Regions from separate parts of the Homo sapiens genome. Here region 1 is linked to region 2. The links are contacts of gene promoters, found by promoter capture Hi-C in human tissues and cell types (Jung and others, 2019). All regions are on one chromosome and are shown on one strand. The core of a region is centred on a gene start or on the middle of the fragment in contact, and the rest is flanking DNA. Distances in the headings are between cores, read along the strand shown.

The links. The method cuts DNA at HindIII sites, captures the fragments that hold promoters and counts their contacts. A contact is called where the count stands out against the background at its distance.
Region 1: a contact is called between a fragment that was not itself captured here and the fragment with the promoter of ARHGEF38 in region 2, in 2 of the 25 tissues and cell types used here (lymphoblastoid cells and small bowel).

What each region holds. Positions count from the first base shown.
Region 1 is chr4:105,679,719-105,684,034 of GRCh38, reverse strand. ARHGEF38 (Rho guanine nucleotide exchange factor 38) reads right to left here. Exons shown (of 14, transcript NM_001242729.2): 14 at 3,121-4,316. INTS12 (integrator complex subunit 12) reads left to right here. Exons shown (of 8, transcript NM_020395.4): 8 at 718-1,408. The coding sequence ends at 1,302. Among named protein-coding and RNA genes, the nearest start is that of INTS12, 27 kb to the left of the region's middle. The HindIII fragment of the contact is 4,608 bases long and covers 583-4,316 here.
Region 2 is chr4:105,550,009-105,554,659 of GRCh38, reverse strand. It overlaps ARHGEF38 (Rho guanine nucleotide exchange factor 38), which reads right to left and starts at 2,040. Exons shown (of 14, transcript NM_001242729.2): 1 at 1,699-2,040. The coding sequence starts at 1,894. LOC105377352 (a long non-coding RNA gene) reads left to right here and starts at 2,376. Exons shown (of 5, transcript NR_188418.1): 1 at 2,376-2,467. The HindIII fragment of the contact is 7,071 bases long and covers 1-4,651 here.

The DNA.
Region 1 (4,316 bases), core at 1,637-4,136, 130 kb before region 2:
AAGGAGCAGGAGACTCTTACATGATAGTTTAACCGGAATCATGGGCAAATTGTGAAACTAAAATCATGAGAACTTTTTAACACATCATAAAAATTGTACACTTCCAAGTAATTAACTTTGCATATATTTTGTACTCCTGTAACTGTTGCTCAAAATTTAGGAGGACATTTTTTTTTAATGGGTTTAGAATCTATACAGCTGTCTTCTTTCTCTCACACAGTCACTCAGTAAATAAATATTGACTGAATCTCTTCATCTTGGATATGTTCTCCTGAATATTCTGGGTATGGGCATTTTTGCTATTAAGAGTGAATTAAATTTTTGAAATGATCCCTAGTTATTTGGAGAAAAGTCTAAAAGAATTAGATGTTTAACTAAGGTCGATAATACTTTGTTGGGTAAAAACTATGTTAAAGCACTAAATCTGGTTTTCAGATATAGCTTAGAATTGAATCTAAAAGCAATTCCCAAAAAGGAATTTCATATATTTTCTTTTGGAATCATTAGAACAAGAATATGGTATCAAAAATTTTCTGCTTTGCAAATGATAATACCCACTAGATACAGATAAGTTTTGTTCTGTGTGGTTTTTCAGATCAGCTTCATAAGAACCTAATTTGGTGGTGTGATTTAAATTTCCCAATTCATAACTTGGGATGTTTATACAGGTACTGATTAAACTTGGCTCTAATGTAATTATTTACTTTATTTTTTTAGACATCCACAGTTATTTCAGGAAATTCTTCTAGTGCCAGCGTTTCCTCGTCAGTAACTAGTGGCTTAACTGGATGGGCAGCTTTTGCAGCCAAAACTTCCTCTGCTGGTCCTTCAACAGCAAAATTGAGTTCAACAACACAAAACAATACTGGGAAACCTGCTACTTCGTCAGCTAACCAGAAACCTGTGGGTTTGACTGGTCTGGCAACATCATCCAAAGGTGGAATAGGTTCCAAAATAGGTTCCAATAACAGCACTACGCCCACTGTACCTTTAAAACCACCTCCACCTCTAACCTTGGGTAAAACTGGCCTTAGTCGCTCAGTTAGTTGTGACAATGTCAGCAAAGTAGGTCTTCCTAGTCCAAGTAGTTTAGTTCCAGGAAGCAGCAGCCAACTAAGTGGGAATGGAAATAGTGGAACATCAGGACCTAGTGGAAGTACTACCAGCAAAACTACTTCAGAATCCAGCAGCTCTCCCTCAGCATCCCTTAAAGGCCCAACTTCACAAGAATCACAGCTCAATGCTATGAAGCGATTACAGATGGTCAAGAAGAAAGCTGCCCAAAAGAAACTCAAGAAGTAATGTGGCCAAGTAGGTTTTTGTATCATATTAGCCTAAAGATGAAAGGCTTATTATTATGATATAATCTGTAATACACTGTAATTTAATAAAAGTCTTCATAATCAAATTTCTATTGTTTCTTACCTTAAAATGCTAAATATTATATAACAAAACTTGGAAACTTTCATTTTAAATCAATCTTCAACATTTTTATTCTAATGATTTCCATAGTGTGTGAAAACAATGATTAGAATGACTGGTTCTCAATGAGATCTTCAGAAGATTGAAAGCATCTGTGAATTTAAGGAAAAAGAAATAGTTCATCTTCTAGCAAAGCCCCAAGAGTTGATCCTGATGAATGAGGTGCCTTATGTGGCGGCAGGGACGACCCAACATAGTTTTCTATTTTCCTCCCCGTATTCTGGGTGTTCATTTTCTGTGCTAGCCCCATTTCAACTGACTCTCCCTCTCCCTCCCAATTATTTCATCTTTTTCAAAATTATTTTTTCATTATTGATTTCTCATATCAATGGATTTTCCTAATTGATTTATCATACTTCATATTATATCTTTACCTTTTTTATCACCTCATTTCAATTATTTAAGGGTATATCTTTTTCCAATAAATTGTGAACTCTCCTGGTGCTTAATACAATATTTTTTCTCACATTGCTCACTTTTCCTACATTGCCAATGTAATACATGCACATAGTACGTAATAAATGTTGAATTTTGATTCATCTTGGTTATGCACATTCCTGATAAGTTTTGAAGAAAAATACCATTTCACAAAGGTCTTTGCAGATGGAAATATATGACTTGTTCACACACTGATGGCTTCTTCCTATACCATGAAAGAAAAGGCTATCTTACTTAGTGCTCAAAATGTTATAGCACTTTACCTAATTTTAGCTAACTTTGTATACAATAAGCTCCTATATAATGATTAATTCTTGAGATTGTTTTGTACATTGTTAACCCATTTATGCCAGAGGTTGCAAATTTTTTTGGTGAAAAATCAGACCTGATGATGACCTTGAACAGTAGGATATAAATAACTCTATAAGCCGAGCATTGCAATAATGGAACACTAGGCATAAGTGGGTTAAGTCAGAAAATGTGGAAGGTCTGCGTTGTTGTCTTACTTGCAAGCTAACAAATTAACCAGCAATTGTTGTACATGTATATTCTGAGAGAAGATAGGAAGCCCTCTGCATCAGAGAAACAGTTTATTATTCACAGCAAAAAAACTGGATATCCAACAAATTCACACATTCACAAGACTATGAACAGCCTGTTCCATCAAACTTGATTTGTGCTACTAAATCTTCACTCTACAAATCTCTAATCTCAAACTGTCTTCCTTAATCCCTAGGTTTTTCTAACATCATTATTCTAAAGTATATTGATAGGTGATCTCTGTAAACACAAAGCTTTTAAAATTAAGCTTGGTCTTTTTTTTTTTAAGGAAAGATTATTATTTTAAACTGCTCTGTTAAATAATGGTGCTAAATTATTTGTAGTAAATTAGAATCCAGGATTGAGATAATCCATTATCTCAATTATGATCTCAATAGGCAGTAAATGTCTGTTTACCCTATATGTAAATAATGAATTATCTCAATCCTACAGAGACTTTTGCTTTGAGAAACAGATTTATTTTGATAAAACATCAATTTGACATAAACCCCAATTTCCCTTTGGGGTCAAAGAAACCAAAAAATACATATCCATAATTGTTTATAGTTCAAAACCAGTTTGGACTAAACAAAATTACCTGACATAAAAACTCAGCTCCGCAACTATAACAGTTAATGTAACCTCCATACCTACAAAAAATGAAAGCAGTAATGTTTATTACAGTTCACACATTGGCACTTGAAATGAAAACATTTATCCCATCATGGAAAATACGTGCTACATAGAGTTGAGAAGAGAAGCAATTATTTTAATTTCTGTTGTACCTCAGAGGGGACTTTAGTTTAGGAGGTAATTTATCTTTCACTGAGTATGGCTCTTTGTATAGATAATGTGTGCACACGTATATTTAGGTTATGTACATATGTATAAGTACACATATACCGTATTTAGCTCAGTTTGGTATTTTATAGAGGTATATTTGGTATTAGAGTTTAAATTGTCTCAAGGAGCTTTTAGACCTTGATTTTTTTCATGTCATAAAATGAGCTACAAGACCCTTTAACTGAGCAGTAATGAAAGTAGCCAGTTTTATATAAATAGCATTTATTATTTTATGATCATTTTATTTAGTTTGTTATGTGCAGATGTTTTCCCCACTAGAATTTAAGTGGTATGAATGGAGGGATCTTGTTTGTCTTGCACAGCATTGTATTCCCACTAACTCTCAATAAATACTTACTGGTTCAATGAATGAATGGACAGATAAGCAAGTGTGCTAACAAGTAAGCTTTTAGGATTGTACATTTTAATCCCATTAGTAGATATGTGGTGACTATCATTTTTCTATTTTGCATATGCTTTATGTAAGATTATATAACTACAGATTTTAGTGACTTAAGGAAAAGAAAAGGGAAAACACTAAAAGAAAGGCCTTAAAGTCAGAAGACCTGGTTTTAAATTCCAGTCCCTCCATGTGAGGTCCTCAATTTCCTCCTTTATAAAACACAGATGAAAATGAGATGTCCTTCAAGTCTACAGTGGATCTGAAGGGAGGGCTATTATTTTCTGTGAGACGAAGAAGAATGTAACTGACATGGCCATGAATCCGCACAAAACAGAATGCACTGTGTTTACATGGGGACATTGCACAGTCACAAAGAGAAATTACACTAAAAGGCTTCAGAGAGGTAATTATAAAGTTTTGGTGGCAACCAATGTGGCTCCTCGTGGTTTGGACATTCCTGTAGTTGACCTGGTGATTCAAAGTTCTCCTCCTCAGGATATTGAGTCCTATATCCATCTCTCTGGATGCGTGGGTAAAGCTGGACAGACAGGGGTTTGTATATGTTTTTATCAACCAAGAGAAAGGTCAACTAAGACATGTGGAACAAAAA
Region 2 (4,651 bases), core at 791-3,290:
AATTTGCTCAAGTTCTAATTGGTAGTAAGTTGAAGAACCAGGTTTAGAAACTAAATGTGTATGATTTTAAATTCTCATGGTACATATTCATCATGGAATACTACACAGCCAGAAGAAAGAACAAAATCATGTCCTTTACAGCAACATGGATACAACCGGAGGCCATTATCCTAAGCAAATTAATGCTGGAACAGCAAACCAAATACTGCATGTTCTCACTTATGAGTGAGAGCTAAACATTAGACATACATGGACATAAAGGTGGCAACAATAGATACTGGAGACTACTGGAGTGGCGAGAAACGGACAGAGGCAAGGGCTGAAAAACCACCTACTGGGTACTATGCTCAGTACCCAGGTGATGAGATCATTTGTACCCCAAATCGCAGCATCACACAAAATACGCAAGTAACAAACACACATATATACCCCCTGAATCTAAAATAAAAGTTGAAATTTTAAGACATCCATTCTTTCCAATGTATCTATTGCTTGGAGAAAAATTAATTTCAAAGATTAAACAATGCTCTCCCTCATTTTAAAAAAAAAGTATTTGAGGATAAGATTGATGCTGTGCTTTAGTGCTGAACTACTGGTAATTTTTTTTTTATTTTTACACATTAACTTATAGTAATAATTTTTAGATTTAATTTAAATGCATTTAATTTAACTTATTTAACTTAATTAATTTGCATAACTAAATCTAAGCTCATATTTGTGGAAAGAGATTTGTTAAATATAAGCATGTCCTATCGGTCTTTCTGACCTCATCACAGTTTTTAAATCCAAAACGACAGCTCACAGTGGGATGATGAGAGTTCAGACACACCTTGTGCTAAAAGCAGGAGAGGCAAGTTCTGGAGGACCACATAACAAGTACCGAAGAAAAGACTTAAAATGCTGCCCAATATCAACATCAAAATGAAATTTTACTAGAACAAATGACCTTCAGGAAACAGGAGAGAAAGAAAGGATAGATAGGACAGGATATAGATTAAGGCCCTGAAACAAATGATGTGCTATCATAACTGTGCCAAATTATCTTTGTACCATCACAAAATAAACTGAAGTTATTTCCTCAAATGTCATTCAAAATAAGCATGCTAAACATTTCTTACCATATTTGAGTATTATTCAATTTACTCAAAGGAAATAATCACCTAAGTGAATTTCAGCAAATCTTTTTATACCGTCTCTCTGACTATAACATTCCTTCTTTGTCACAGACACGATTATAGTTTCATGCCCCTATTTAAGATAACCACAATCATAGTTCAGTACCATTACCTAGATATATCTCATGGTGTAATATCACATATCTACCCATTGAGATAAACAATCTTTTGTAGGTTTCTAACTCATTTGCTTTCCAGTGTTTCCCACTTCTTAAGTTGGGTAGAGAAGGGAGAAGAAAAGAGGAAGTTAGAAGAAAAATGATTACCCTCACCAGGAAAAAAAAAAGAAAAACACAGCAATATTAAGAGTAATTCGGAATTGACTCTTTAACATTGAATCACGTAATAAATTTTTTTCCCTATAATTTATAGGTCACATTTACTTTCATCTTCTTATTTTGTGGGAAGGAGAGGTGGTATTCAATTTTCCCCTCTGCCTTGTGTGTTTTCTTTGCAATTGGAAACGTAGCAGAAATGGAGCTGGGAGTGCAGTAACTGGGACAATTGATTTCTTTTTGGTTACCTTGTAATTTCTGGTTGTATTCGGTCCTGTCAGATTGGCTCCTCCTCAAGGTGCCAGAGTGGTCCCCAGAAACACTGCTCTCAACCACAGTGTCAGTCTTCCTTCTCTCCAGCATATAGAGTCTAGACCTCAAGAAGGCCAGATTCTTTTTCTTGGTGACCATGTTTTCTTTCCCAGTGGCTTCTTTGGGCTCCATATTAGGCAAAGACAAGCTTTGGAGGCTTGCAGGCAATGGCTGATTGCTAAGGTGCCTCAGGGTGAGGGTTAAAGCTACTAGAGTGACGAGTTTATCTGCTCCCTTCTAACTAAACCGCTTCACTCCAGGGTTACCTGGCTGTGACTGCCACCACCTCTACGAAGTCCCAGAGCTCCACCCACATGAGGTCATTCTTTTTTAAACCTAGAATCCAACAGGGGAAGCTGCCACCTGTTACCTGAGAGACTTGCAGCACAGAGCTAGGCAAAGCAGGGACTGTGCTGTCACATGCTACTGAAGCAAACAAAAATCCTATTGTATGGGGTGAGGGGTGGGGAAAAAGGAAAATGAACAAGGTGAGGCAGTGAGGAAGGAAGTACACGTTAGCATAACCCGCCGTTTATGGGTTTAATGTGTGCCCATGGGTGTGTGCAGGTGCACTCAGGGCACTGTGTTGTGGTCTGCTGCCTGGAGGCAGACCAGGGCTTGTGCGTGGCTTTTGGCTAGAGTTACTCACAGGTGACCCACGGAGTCAGTGCAGGGGCTATGAGAATTTGCATTTGCATCAAAACGGTGAGTACAGAATCATTTTCAGTGATTACTGTGCACACTCAAAGTTATGCTTCTGCCTTTAAGCGTTGAACATTCAGCAATTATTTACTGAAAACATACTTGCCAAACCCTGATCCGCATTCCTGAGGAAATAAGGATTCACATGTGAGAGTCATCTGGCAGCAGGCAGAAGAAGTGGAGGGGAATGCCCATAGAAGCCTAGAGCCTTTTCAGATTTCTCACTCTCCACAGGCTGCCCTTGCCTGAAATTAATCCTTCCATGGTCCCACCCTGTCCTTTTATGTTTTGGTCCTTAGGAAAATAAGCCCCGTGTCAGGGTTCAGTTTCTATAAGATCTTTTCCCTGTCCCTTTCATAGACGGAGTGCCAGAAAAGGGCATCCCACCTTGGGAATTTAAGGAGAGGAAAAATGTTTGAAACTGAAGGGGCACTACACTTCTAGAAAGTAGAAAGGATAGGGCAGGGATTAAAAGAGAGAAAGGCAGACAGTGATAGGCCTTTCATTAATTTTTTTGAAGTTGTTTTTCCTCATATTTCCTGAGATCTCTCAAGGGAAAAATTCTAAGAAGCTCTGGGAATGTGCTGAGTGCTCTGTATGCCTTCGTTAAAGAAAAGAAAGACCCTAAGGAGGAAAATGGATTCTCTCCTATTGTAAAGGGACCACCAAAATCCAGCTCTGTGCTGACCAGTCTGAATCTTGCATAACTTCTGTTGGAAAAGATTTATAAATGAGGAGAAAGATGTAAAAGTCATTTCCCAGCTCAGGATGTGTGTGCTCAATATAGTTTGCATAATTATCTTAAAAGATAAATGACACATCTTCACCCACTATGGAGACATCTATATATAGCTTGGCGTATTGAATGGCTTTTATTTAATATAATTGATAGTCTTTTTTGAATAAATCCTCCCAAGTACATTTAATAAATACTTTTAAAGGCTTATTTACCTCTAAAATATAAAAGGAATTTTTTGGATTTATGTCAAAATGCCTCAATTGTGTTCGAATATTATATATGTATGAATGTATGTATGCATATACACACTTATTTATATTCACCTGGTAACCACCAGGGATTTATTTAGATACGGTATCACTGAAAAAAAAAGTTCAATTAAAACTACAGGACTTAATGGGTAACATGAGGTTTAGGACAGAGCACTCAGAAACTTTGTCAATGGACCATAAAAATCAGATCAAGACCTAATAAAAATGGTAGCAAGAATTTACACATGATAAATGCTTAAGAAATGCATAAATACTACAGCAAATATAACCCTTTATCTTGAAAAAGACACGGCATTTGCTTGTGGAAATGGGCCTCAGAAAGGTCACAGCTTAAGGGTTGTGAAATGGCAGAAGAAGCATTATTTGAAATCGGGGGAAATTTATTACACCAGATGTGGATGGGTGTGGCTCATAACTCAGGCAGTGAACTGAGGTCACTGGTAAGGTTTGAGGATTGTACCTGTGTGAGTTTTGTGTATTCTTATGTGGCTCAGGTCATCTGGGTAGTTTTCTGCATTCGACTAGTGTTTCAAGTAGACAAAATCACACACAAACAAATGCGAAATTGTGTTATGTTCAAACAATTCCCTAATATGTCAATCTTGTTGGAACAAATTTGTATTTTCAAAACAAGTGTTATAGCAGAACTTATTGTAATAGCTTCATTATACAACCCTGTATTGTTTAACAACAAGGATACATTCTAAGAAAAGCATCATTAGACAATTTTGTCATTGTGTGAACATTATGGAATATATTTTCTTTAAACGTAGCTTCATTATACCATCCTGTATTGTTTAACAACAAGGATACATTCTGAGGAAAGCATTATTAGGCAATTTTGTCATTGTGTGAACATCATGAAATGCATTTACGCACACCTAAATGGTATAGCCTACTACATGTCTAGGCTATATGGTACCGCCTATTGCTCCTGGGCTATAAACCTGTTACTGTACTGAGTACCATAGGCTATTGTAATGCAATGGTAAGTATTTGTATCTCTAAACGTATTTAAACATAGAAAAGTACAGTAAAAGTATGGTATTATAATATTATGAGACCACTATTGTATATGTAGTCCATCTTTGACTGAAACATCATTATACAGCACCTGACTATGTTTTTTATTTTCACCAGTTATTAAGATACATAACAGCTACTATGAGTTCAGTG